Regions from separate parts of the Homo sapiens genome. Here region 1 is linked to region 2. Evidence: promoter capture Hi-C in 16 types of primary human blood cells and fetal thymus (Javierre and others, 2016). All regions are on one chromosome and are shown on one strand. The core of a region is centred on a gene start or on the middle of the fragment in contact, and the rest is flanking DNA. Distances in the headings are between cores, read along the strand shown.

What was found. The method cuts DNA at HindIII sites, captures the fragments that hold promoters and counts their contacts. A CHiCAGO score of 5 or more calls a contact.
Region 1: a contact is called between a fragment that was not itself captured here and the fragment with the promoter of CREB3L1 in region 2, in 1 of 17 cell types (megakaryocytes). The highest score is 6.0, in megakaryocytes.

The regions. Positions count from the first base shown.
Region 1 is chr11:46,237,296-46,243,739 of GRCh38, forward strand. It overlaps LOC124902669 (translation initiation factor IF-2-like), which reads left to right and starts at 94. Exons shown (of 1, transcript XM_047427965.1): 1 at 94-2,434. The coding sequence starts at 544. The coding sequence ends at 1,254. RefSeq lists enhancers at 1-8, 5,131-6,064, 6,065-6,444, silencers at 594-643, 754-1,073, 1,900-2,109, 6,077-6,286 and a cis regulatory region at 5,751-6,444. The HindIII fragment of the contact is 1,141 bases long and covers 2,126-3,266 here.
Region 2 is chr11:46,274,009-46,279,689 of GRCh38, forward strand. CREB3L1 (cAMP responsive element binding protein 3 like 1) reads left to right here and starts at 3,654. Exons shown (of 12, transcript NM_052854.4): 1 at 3,654-4,205. The coding sequence starts at 4,104. LINC02489 (long intergenic non-protein coding RNA 2489) reads right to left here and starts at 419. Exons shown (of 3, transcript NR_183622.1): 1 at 373-419. The HindIII fragment of the contact is 5,299 bases long and covers 496-5,681 here.

The sequences.
Region 1 (6,444 bases), core at 1,446-3,945, 38 kb before region 2:
CATCTTGAGTTCTGGAGGATGAGTAAGAGGAAGCCGGTAGGGGGAGGGGGAGAAGGGAGGAAGGGGAAAATTCTCTGGATAGGGCCTAACTGCAGCAAAGACCTGAGGACCTTCAAGAGTGTGGCCCCAGCGGGCTCCAGCCTCCGAGCCTAGCTCGGGAGGCGTGGTGTAGAAAATGGCAGACTAGGGCATCCATGAAGACCGGGCGGCCCCAAGCCGAGAGGCATGGCAAAACAGGGGTTGCAGGTGGCTGTTCTGGCAGAGCGAGGAGGATGGATTTGAAGAAGACAGGCATGCAGGGGAGACCTTTGAGGGGAATGTGTCAACAGCCAAGGGGGGCGGGGCGCCGGGGAGGTCTGGATGAAGTGGGAATGAGGATGGAGTGCAGAGTGCCTGGAGAAGTGTTCAGGAGGGAAGGCGAGGCATCGGGACGAGGGGCTGGGCGGTCGCGCCATCTCTGCGATAGACAATAATCGGGTCAACACGCGGCGAGTGGCGGTGCGCGCGGGGCCAACCGCGTGGAGCTGTCGGGAGGGCGATAGGATGGGCGCGCCCGGGCTGCAGGCGGGGAGCCGGAGGTGGGAGGTGCCTCTTGAGAGTGGCTCTCCACCGCTGACAGCAAACGAGCTGGTCCGGACGGAGGACAGAGGGGGAAGAAACGGAGGGAGTCGCTGGGGGACGGCGACGAGTGGGATCCGGGCGGGTGGGACTGGGCGCAAAGGACCGCGCCGACGCCGCATGGCTGCCGGGAATTCAGCTCCCCCGGCCAGGTTGAGCGGGCCCCGGGGCCCGGAGCGGGCGTCGGCATCTCCGGCCTCCCCGCGGGGCTGCAGGCAGGCGGCGCCCCGAGCGCACCCCGCGCGAGCAGGCGCGGAACAGCGGACCCAGGCCGGGCCTTCCCGCAGCTTTTCTGGCCGCCTCGGAGGGCAGGGTCCCAGCGCGGCCCGAGGCGCCTCTTGCCAGCGGCCCGACCTCCTGCCCTCCCGGCCCCCTCCAGGCTCCCCGCACGTGCAGGCCCGGCGACGTCACTGCGGCTCTGACGCGCTCTTGGAGGCCCGGGCGGAGGCGGCGCGGCGCGGGCTTCCTCCGGGAGGTCCCGGTCCCGGCAGCCCGCGGCCGCGTCCTTGGCCCTCCTCCGGGGGAACCTCGTTCATTCCAAACTCTGGAAGGCCGGCTGTCCTTCGGTTACTGATAAGGACGCGAGCTCTTGGTAAAAGATTTGAACAATGCCCGGAAAGAAATAGCTGGACCTAAGAAACAGACTAATAATAGCTGCCAGCTAGAGCTCCACTCGTGTGCTCAGCGCCTTTAGGAACAATAATAACGACCACAGCCATAGTAGCCACCATTTATTGAGCGCTTACTCTGTGCCAGGTGCTGTGTTAAGCGCTTTGCAGGCAACAACCCTCGGAGGTAAGTACCATTATCATCCCTATTTTGCAGGAAACCCGGGCACAGAGAGGTTAAGTAACTTGCCCCAGGGCACACAGCTAGCTGATGTCAGTGCCAGAATTCCAACCGCGGCTGTCGGACCCCATGCCATCCTCATGTCAACCCACTAAGGACGGGATCCTTCTGTCCATCTTAAAGATGAGGCAACTAAGGCACATGGAAATTTAAGTATAATACCTTGCCCAAGGTCACCTAGCTGGAAAATGGACGAGACAGAAAGCGAACCCAGGGCTCCTTTCTGTACGCAGAACCCGCGGTCTTGGCCATAGGCGATGCCACTTCCGACAGCCCAGCAGGGTCTGGCCCTGGGTCCCAGAGGCGCAGCCCCTGCGGGGTTTGGATGGGTTCCTGCGGCCTCCGATCCGCTGGTGAATTGGGTGTGTCTGAGCATCGTCCCCGCTCAGCCCGCAGGCGTAGGATAGGGAGGCGTCTCCGGGAATCTACTCCGGGACGGGTCCGCGGTCCTCAGTCGGGATGGAGCGGGGGCGGAGGCAGCCGGAGGGAACTGGAGTCCCCATTGCAGAACTGCGGGGCCGGGCTCTGGGCTGGGCGCCTGCCCCGCGCGGCCGGCAGAGGGCGCTGCCGCACACGCCTTGGATCTCACTGTCACTGGGACCTCGGGGCAGGCTGACGTCGGCCTGCAGACGCCTGGACTCAGAACCCCGAAGCAAGAAGCTTCCCTTCCTGGTGGCTGCCATCCCTCAGGCCCACCATTTCAGCCCTGGACCTGCTTTCCCTGACCACTTTTCCCCATCTTCTGTGCTCCTGCCATCCCACCACTGGCCTTCAAGACTTCCCCAGTCCCTGCACAGCGGGTTTTGTCATCTGCTGAGAGGCGCGGACACTGATTCCCATCCCATTAAAAGGCCTAGATGTCTGCAAGTCAAATTCAGCCTTGCTTCCCCTTCTCGCCCTCTGGTGATTTAAAATAGGGATACATCATCTACTTGGAATAAATGACTAATTTTTCTCTTCTCCAAAATACGGTGGGTATGGGGAGGGTTGGTTAAGTAGGCGCACACAGATGAAAGGATCTATTTTCATAATAGCTACCGAGTACAGAGTGCTTCTTTTGCGCTGAGCCCTTTATGTGCTTTGACTCATTAATCCTCACTACAGCCCTAAGAGGTGTGGATGATGATTGCTGTTTGATGGATGAGGTCACAAGGCTGGTAAGTGGCAAAGCTGGGATTCTTCCCAGGAGTGTCTGACTTTAAAGCTATGTTCTCATCACCCAGAATGTACACGCTGAAACAACTGAACAGAAGAGGTAAGATGCAAATCATGAAAAACAAATCAAAATCTACGCTGAGAGTGCATAGAAATACCACATGTCATGGGAGGCTTGACCAGCTTGAGTCCCCAATGTGGGACTCAGATGTTGAACAGAAAAACAAAACCTAAAGGTGCAAGGAGAGAATAAGAATGAGGCTTTTGGCTTTAGCTTGGAAGAGCATCCGGAGAGGCCCACTCACTTTCTATGTCTGGGCTCTGAGAAAATAAAGGTGGTTCTAGGAAAATCTGAAAAGTATGGGAGAAAGAAAAAAAAAATCCCTTTTGTGGTTTTTCCTTTAACCAAGCCTCATTTTGCTATTTGTGTTTTATTTTAAAATTAATGTGGCTCTCCCCACCCTTTAAATTGGCACATAAATAGCAAAAACAGAAGGAAAGCCAGCTACAAACTTAAAATGTGGTGGGTTTCTCAGGAAGGAGGTACATGACTTGAAATGGAAATGAGGATTAAATGAGATGCCTTAAACATTTCAAAAACAGACTTTCCACAAGGAATTTAGATCATAAGCCCTTAGGGCAGAAGCTTTGTCTGGGTCTGGGCTTGGTATAGTGTCTAGAATCTGTGAGTGCCCAATGAATGTGTAAAACAAATCACCCTTTTAGTACATGCTTGCATCATCTGACCATCTGGGCTACCACGTTGCTTATGGTTTTATTTATTATTATTATTATTATTTATTTTTTGAGACGGAGTCTCACTCTTGTAGCCCAGGCTGGAGTGTAATGGCACAATCTTAACTCACTGCAACCTCTGCCTCCTGGGTTCAAGTGATTCTCCTGCCTCAGCCTCTCGAATAGGTGGGATTACAGGCACCTGCCACCACACCCGGCTAATTTTTGTATTTCTAGAAAAGATGGGGTTTCACCATGTTGGCCAGTCTGGTCTCGAACTCCTGACCTCAGGTGATCCGCCCACGTCAGCTTCCCAAAGTGCTGGGATTACAGGCATCAGCCACCACGCCCGGCCTGCTTATGGTTTTGAAGTGTTGCTTCTGGGGTGATATTCCTGTCCTCTAGATCTCAGTCACTCCTCAGACCCCTCCCTTTTCCAGAAATTTGCTCTGGAAATTCAATCAAGGTGAGGCAATAGGTGATGATGTCACTAGGCTTGGTGAAGTAGAATGACTGCTCAGCTCTGGAACCACCAACTGGAGGTTTTTCCAAACGAGGAAAACAAAGTCATGGGACTTGTCACTTAATAGTTCTGACTGTATTGCCCTGTGCCTTTAAACTGGAAGAATTCCCCCTCTTCACCCAATACCCTGGCCATCCCAGGTGGCCTCCTGCAAAATTATTGGACTTCTTTGCCCTTTCCTCAGTCTGCTTCTTCTTCCCTCCTTCTTTCAGTACCTTCACTCCACAGACATGTATTGAGAGCCCATTATATGTAGGTGCTGGGAGGACAGCAGAGAACCTAGCATGAGCTCATGGGCTCACCTTCTCCTGTTCCCACCTCCACCTGGCTCCTTTCTTCATGGCTCCAACTTTCAGGTTTGGCTCCACCATAGTAACTGACTTGCTTCTCCATGTGGGAACAACTACTCAGACACTTTTTTTTTTTTTTTTTTTTGAAACGGAATTTCACTCTTGTTGCCCAGGCTGGAGTGCAGTGGCACCATCTCAGCTCACCGCAACCTCAGCCTCCTGGGTTCAAGGGATTCTCCTGCCTCAGCCTCCCGAGTAGCTGGGATTACAGGCATGCACCACCACACCCGGCTAATTTTGCATTTTTAGTAGAGACAGGGTTTCTTCATTTTGGTCAGGCTGGTCTCGAACTCCCGACCTTAGATGATCCGCCCACCTCCCAAGTGCTGGGATTACAGGCATGAGCCACCATGCCTGACCAGACACATCTGACATTCTATCAGCTCCGGGCAGCTTCCTGAGACCATACCTGCTGACTTTAGAACCCCACCTTGGGGGTACCCATTTGGCAGGTTTGGATCCTGATGGACCTTCAGGAGCAGAACTTGGGAATGTTCTAGCTCCAGGACCTGCCAATGCCGTCCCATCCTTTCCTAGTTGGCTTTCCTTCCATTCATAAGAACACTGTGACAACTGAAATAATTCAGGTCATATTTATGAAACATCTATTACAATGAGAATCCCATAGTGACATAATACTCCACTGTTCACAGGAAAATGCTAGCTAAAACAAACAACAGTGACTGTCTGGCAAGGGACGCATCGAATAATGCTTATGAGTCTTTTGGGTCTTTTTTTTTTTAATCTTGGGATCGAGTGATTGATAATAATGAAGGGGAAGGAAGACATTAGGCCTGTTTTAGTTCTCAGAATTATTCACAGGGAATAGACTTTCACCATCAACACCCTAAAGATGCAGAATGCTCAAGGTAAATTGCCAGTTTTTGTCTTTCTGGAAAATCCATTAATACTGAATGATCTTGGTCTTGACCCATTCCAAAAAAAAAAAAAAAAAAGAGGATTGAGCCATGGGATTCAGATTATGTCCTTGAAAATCCCTTTAAAAACTAGATTCCAAATCAGTGCTCTCATTCTTCTTGAATATCCCACCCACCAGCTTAGCTTGTCCTATCCCTTCTAGATACAGCATTATTTTCTCTCTTTGAGGAAGAATGGCCCAGAGGCCGGAAGAGTGAGGGAACGTAAGAACGACTTTTCCACTGACCTGAGTTGCTAAAGCCATTTGGACCCAGAGAACTCATTGTATATGTGTGCTGCTCAATATATATGTGTGCATGAATTTGTGGTTGTGCATTTTCTGGCTAATATCCAAAGTCTTCATAACAAGGGGCCTGAGATACGACAAAAGGAAGACCTATGTGTCAAGGACGTGTGTCCACCCACCAAGAAGTTCTGGATGCCCAAAGGGGCTCCTAGCTCAGGGTCTGTGTGTCCAGCTGCTGGGGTAAAGAGATTTGGAAACCACTGAACATTTCTGCTGGGATCCTTCCAAACCCTTTTGGGAACCGGCAATAGCACTTGTCAGGGGAAATTAGTTCTGCACTTTCACAGAGTGAGAAATTCCTCAGGGGGCATTCTTGTACTTGGGAAGAGAAATCGAACCCAGCTGATTCCTTCAGGGCCCTTGCCATTAATAAAGCAGACGAAGTCCAGTTCAGTTAGTCCCGCCTGGGTCAGGGCGTGGAGTGAGGACAGGAGCAATGGCGTTCAGGGAATTTCACCTGTGGCTATGGCCCTCCTCTGATGGGTGCAAGCTTGATATTTTAGGGGATCGCGTTACCGGCATGTAAACACCGTGAGTGACAGCCAAAGCTCCCAGGCGACCACAGAGGATCTCAAACCCTTCCTATCTTCCTAGAAACCCTGGCAGCCCGACCGGCTGCTTGCTGTCTGATGCAACAGTTTGCAACGCTGTTCTGGGAGTTGAGTCCTGCTGCGGGGCGCCGGGAACCGGGCCGACGCGCATGCGCGGGCTGCGGCCCCGCCCCAAAGGGCGGAGGGGGAGCTTTTCACCAGATGTGCGGGGGGCGGGGCCGGTCGGCCAGGGAGACCTCTGGCAGCTCGCGCCTGCGATCTGAGCTTAATTAAACTTCTCCCGAGGCATTGGCTGACTGATTGACCCAGTGATCCAAAAAAATCAGAGAGGCCCAAATCTCCCCAAACGCACCGGCAGAGCGAAGTTGGGAAGTTGGCTTCGGTTTCCAGACTTGGGCCTTTGGATTCGGCGTCCCTCTCCTGCGCCCCCGATCCGCA
Region 2 (5,681 bases), core at 2,404-4,903:
TACAACCCAGGCAAACAAGACAAGTTTACTTTGGGTGACCTTATTATCACCACCCAGGGCCTGCCTGCTGAGTGTAAACACCAGCTTGCACCCTCCTGGAGGCTCTGGGCAGAAGCCTGGATAATCAAAGTACCAGGCCTCCTGAGCGGGGAGGCCCTTCACACTCCCCCGACCCCTACCCCTGCTCCCCAGGCCCTGTCCTGGAAAGGGCACATTGGAAGATCCTTGGAGAGGATGAAACCCTAGAGGGCATCAACACCTCGCCCATTTCATAGCTATGGAAACGGAGACCCAACGAAGGGCAGTGACTCTACACACACACACACACACACACACACACACACACACACACACACACCCCATTCTACTCACAGCTCAGCCTGGCAGGAGCCTCTCTCTCTGCCTGATCCTCAGTGTCTGGAACAGGCAAGAAGCTTATCTCTGTCCTCTTTCTCCTGTGCGTCATTGACTGCGTTGGGATGCCTTTATGCATGAAGCTTTTGCTTCACAGTTGGAACAGCTCATGGAGAGCAGCAACCAGGTGTTCCTGAGCCCGTCACAGAAGGAGCTGCCATCAGTGCCTCTCGTGACCTGCAGTATTTGGGCCTGTGGAGGTGGTGTTTGCAGAGCCAACGTTGGCCTCCATCCCCTAACTCCTTCAGATGTAAAGGAGGGGCCTTGGTGGGGGGTTGGGTTGTGGGACCAGGCCCAAGAACTGGGAGGGAGGGAGCAAACCCTCCCTGCTGGGTTAGAAGGCAGACTTAAGACCCAGGGAGACATCTCATTTCATCTCCTGGAAAATCTTTAATAGACAAGAGAGAAGGGATGTGTGACTGACCACACCCTACAGAAGGCTTTAGGTGGGCACAGTTCTTTCCAGTCCTGGCACAGAATAGAGCCTGGGCTTCAGTGTGGCCATAAGTACGGGGTTTGTGTAGGGCATTGGGGTTTCGCCCTCATCATCTCACTCCTGCGCCACTGCCTGTTCTTCCCAGTCCGGCCTTCCTCCTCTTTCTCTTCTACTTGCTGTTCCCTCTGCCTAGAATGTTTTCCCTGCATTTTGCCCCATAAATGACCCCAGTTCTTGATTCAGTTCTCAGTTCACATGTGGCCTCTTCAGAGAGGCCTTCCTTACCCAAAGAGTCACATCACACTATTTTATTTTTTCATAGTCCTTACCACTCTCTGAAATCATCTTCTTAACATTTTTTTACCCACCCACCTCTGTACAAACACGTTTACTCTGGGATCCAGGTTCTTAATCACTGCTGTGTCTCCAGTGCCTAGTCTCGGAACCATTCACAGTAGGTACTCAATAATGCTTGTAGAATGTGTGAATAAATCTGCGATCATCCTCATCTCTGCTGGACTTTGCCATCCTCTTCATTCCAGAAAGAAAATGATCACACTCCTCTGTGTGCCCGGCTCTACACTGCCTGGTCTCCCTCCTCCCCCTGCCACCCCTTTCCCCAGGATTTCTCTTGGGAGATTCTGCCTCTCAGACTCCGCAGAAGCTGCTGGAACCAGAATGGCTCCCCAGGATTATTTTCAATGGTTTCCTGGGGTGTTCACCTGGGTAAGAATAAGGAAAGAGAGGACACTCTAATCCTACTTATCTAAAACTATATAATCTTCCCCAATCACTTAAATGGTACCTGTGTCTCTAATTACAGAGCAGGCTGGGAGGAACACAGGCACAATTTCCAGCCAACCTCAGGCGGGGGGCCACTTTTTCTCCTCCTGGGGGCCTGTAGGGACTATAGCTTAGTAGCCAGGACTCCAGACACCTGCTGCTGGAGCTCACTCACGATAGCCTGTTCACCCAGCCAGAGACCCCTCCCCTCCCCCTGAGAAGTATCAGCCACATCCCAGTGTTTGAATGGTCCCCATTTGGCCAGATGTGACGCATTTGGGGAAGACACCCATGGTCCCAGCACCCTAATTCTACCCGCCACTGTTGTGAAAGTGAATTGATTTCTTTTTGGCCCAGCCTTACTTCTCGGAGTTGCATGGCTGGTGAACTGGTCCCCAGAGCATGGGTTATAATCCTACTTTCTCAGGAGCAAATTCTACAGGAGGCCTGGGAGCTAACAGTCATGTGACAGCCTGGAAGGTCAGAACTTCACTCTCCAGAACTATGTCAACTAGATCATAAGGTGGGGAAAAGCCACGTGACTGCCTGCCTGCCAGGGAAGCAAACAACTGCTGTCTCAGCCTTGGTATGAACCCTTCTCCCACCTGGTGCTGAGAGCAATTTTGGTGACATCCATGGCTTAGCTGCAATGACATCTCTACCTCTTAAAGGCCTTTGGTTCCTGAGCTAATTAAACGTCCCAGACAGAAAGGACATGCTTAATCTTATTAATAACTTCTGGTCAGGAAACAGTGTGCCCAGCCCTCTGAGGGAGTGCCTTTCTGAACCACCTCCATTTGTTCAGGTGCTTGGCGATTGCTATCAGCCCTTTCAAGAGATTAAGTTTGTACGCAGGAGCAAGCCACTTAGGTAATGGATCCCGGGGCCCTGGGAGTGTCTGGTGACTGTGGAGTGTGCAGCCAGCCAGCACCTTGGCTCATTCAGATTCCAGAACCACTGTTTTCCAACTTCCTGCTCTTCAGAACCATTGGGGGGTAGGGAGGGACTTGACTATCGAGGAGAAGAGGGGGACTCTCCTATCTCTGGCTGTTCACCCAGCCCTTTCACACAGAGGGAAGCTGGGGACTGTCCTTGCCCTGAGGAGCCTCACAGCTCAGTGGGGTCACAGATACAAACAATGTGAGCAAATAAGGACAATACCACATTAGACTGGAAACAGTGGAGGTGAGCACATGATGCCCTGTGGGTGTATACCGTTGGTAACTGCTCCAGCCTGGGGGTTCAGGGAAGGCTTCCTGGAAGAAGAAACAGGTGAGATGAGAAATGAGAGTTACAAGCTGAAAATCGGCTGGGCATGGTGGCTCACACCTGTAATCCCAGCACTTTGGGAGGCCAAGGAGGCCGGATCACCTGAGGTTAGGAGTTCCAGAGGAGCCTGGCCAACATGGTGAAACCCCGTCCCTACTAAAAATACAAAAATTAGCTGGGCGTGGTGGGGCGCGCCTGTAATTCCAGGTGCTCAGGAGGCTGAGGCAGGAGAATCGTTTGAAACTGGGAGGCGGAGGTTGCAGTGAGCCGAGAACACACCATTGCACCCCAGCCCGGGCAAAAAGAGCGAAACTCCGTGTCAAAAAAATAGTAATAATAATAAATAAAATTTTTAAAAAGCTGAAAATCTCCCCCGTTGAGGGGAGATCTGTTGAGGGGACTGTGAAATGGAATTCCCTGACTGGGTTTCGTGCAGGCTTTAGTATAAGGCTGGAAGGATGGAAATAGCTCCCTCATCAATTTACGGGACAGTGGTTGGTGAAGCCTTAAAATGCCAATGTTCCAGGAACACTGTTATCGGTTCCAGGACTATTGTTGCTTTAAGCCCCCACCTTGAGCATTCAGAGAAGAGAGATTACTAAGACGAAGTTGCAGATGTCTCTTTAAAAAAGGAGAGAGGATTCCTCGAGCCACGCCCTCTTCTCATTAATATTAAATTATTGTGAATATTGATGTGGGGGCGTGGCGCCTTGGCCAGCTGGGCTAGCCAGCCAGGGGTTCCCGGTTTCACAGAGAGGAAAGTGACAGAAGACGTGCGGAGGGAGACGCAGAGACAGAGGAGAGGCCGGCAGCCACCCAGTCTCGGGGGAGCACTTAGCTCCCCCGCCCCGGCTCCCACCCTGTCCGGGGGGCTCCTGAAGCCCTCAGCCCCAACCCCGGGCTCCCCATGGAAGCCAGCTGTGCCCCAGGAGGAGCAGGAGGAGGTGGAGTCGGCTGAATGCCCACGGTGCGCCCGGGGCCCCTGAGCCCATCCCGCTCCTAGCCGCTGCCCTAAGGCCCCCGCGCGCCCCGCGCCCCCCACCCGGGGCCGCGCCGCCTCCGTCCGCCCCTCCCCCGGGGCTTCGCCCCGGACCTGCCCCCCGCCCGTTTGCCAGCGCTCAGGCAGGAGCTCTGGACTGGGCGCGCCGCCGCCCTGGAGTGAGGGAAGCCCAGTGGAAGGGGGTCCCGGGAGCCGGCTGCGATGGACGCCGTCTTGGAACCCTTCCCGGCCGACAGGCTGTTCCCCGGATCCAGCTTCCTGGACTTGGGGGATCTGAACGAGTCGGACTTCCTCAACAATGCGGTAAGATGAAGGGTCTCCGTTCCCGTTCCACCCCTCGGCACCCGTCCTCGCGGCGCGCCTGGGCCCCTAGAAGGACCCGACTACACATCACTGGGCAGGAGCCGGGGAGAGGGTTCAGCGCAGGGTCTCCAGGAGCGACATGTGTTTGGAGCTAAGCGCCCCTCCTGGGGGCTCAATCTTTGAATACACTGGCCTCCACCTTCTAGGGGGAAGGGGCCATCGAGGTATCGGGTCCGTCCGATCCTCGGATCTGAGCTCAAGAGACACCAATCCCGCCCTCCACCCACGTCTTCTAGCCGTCCCCAACCCACCCCAGGTTCCAGGACCAGACTGGGCGCAAAGTGGCAGCGCCCTTTCCTGCGCCTCCCTTGGGGCTTCGGTGGCTCATAGGCTGGATCTCCGCTGGGGGGCGCACCGGGGAACGTTCAGAGGGCCTGAGACCCGACCCCTCGGGGAAGCCAGGCCCAGAAATTTCAGGGTGCTACCCTGGCAGCCCCAGGGAATCAGGCCCAGAGACCCCCCACCCCAGGGAGGGACCTGAGGCTGGGGGCTGGGAAGAGGCGGTCAGGGCAACATAGGGTGATGGCTCAGGAGGAGGGAGCCATTTCTCTCCATCTGCCTCTAGATCTCTGCTCTGTCCCTCTGTTCCTGGAGTCTGGCTGACTTTCTCCCTCTCCCTATGTCTTCTTGACTAGGTCCGACTGTGAGCTTGTCTTTCTCCTCTTTCTCACTCTTCCCCTCCCTCCCTAAGGAAACGTGGCTTCTCTCTCTTCTTCCCTCCCTCCCTCTCTCAGGCTCAGCCCTAAGGCCTTGATGGGGGAGGGGCACGGACTTAGAATGGGAGAAAATATTTGGGTTCAGAAGGGCCTGCCCAGATGAAATGTGGATTGTTTGGGGAGTCTAGTGGGAGCCCCCTCTTCAGTGAACCACCAGTTGCGTGTGCATGCCTGTTCACACGCCACACACACACACACACCCTGTGATCAAGCACTTGAGACTCTTTACCTGCTGACCTCTACCTCCCAGGACCAAGATAAACTTGGCCAGGCAAGAGTCAAGTCCTTAGAGGACTTGAGCATCTTGGACTTCCACCTAAACTGTCCCAGGCCACTAGATTGATGGTGAGGAACCAGGCCAAGGGACAGGAGCCGGAGTCAAGGAGGCATGGGGGCTGAGGTCTCCCTGTTCTCCATTAAGCAGCACATCCTGGTCACCCTGCGCTCTGAGGAAGGCCCCTGTCCCAGGCAGAGAGAGCATAATTCAGCAGACAAGACAAGGGTATAAGGGCAGAGGGCTTGCATTGACTGCAGCGAGACTTGGTTTCTAGTCCTGGCTCTGCTTCCCCTGTGAGCTTGGCCCCTACCACTGGCTCTCCTCCCTGAGCCTCAGTTTCTTTGTCTGTAAAATGGGGGAGAGGTTGGATCAGGTCTTCCTATAGATGGTTCTGGCACAGATCCCAGGAATAAAGCAGCAGGG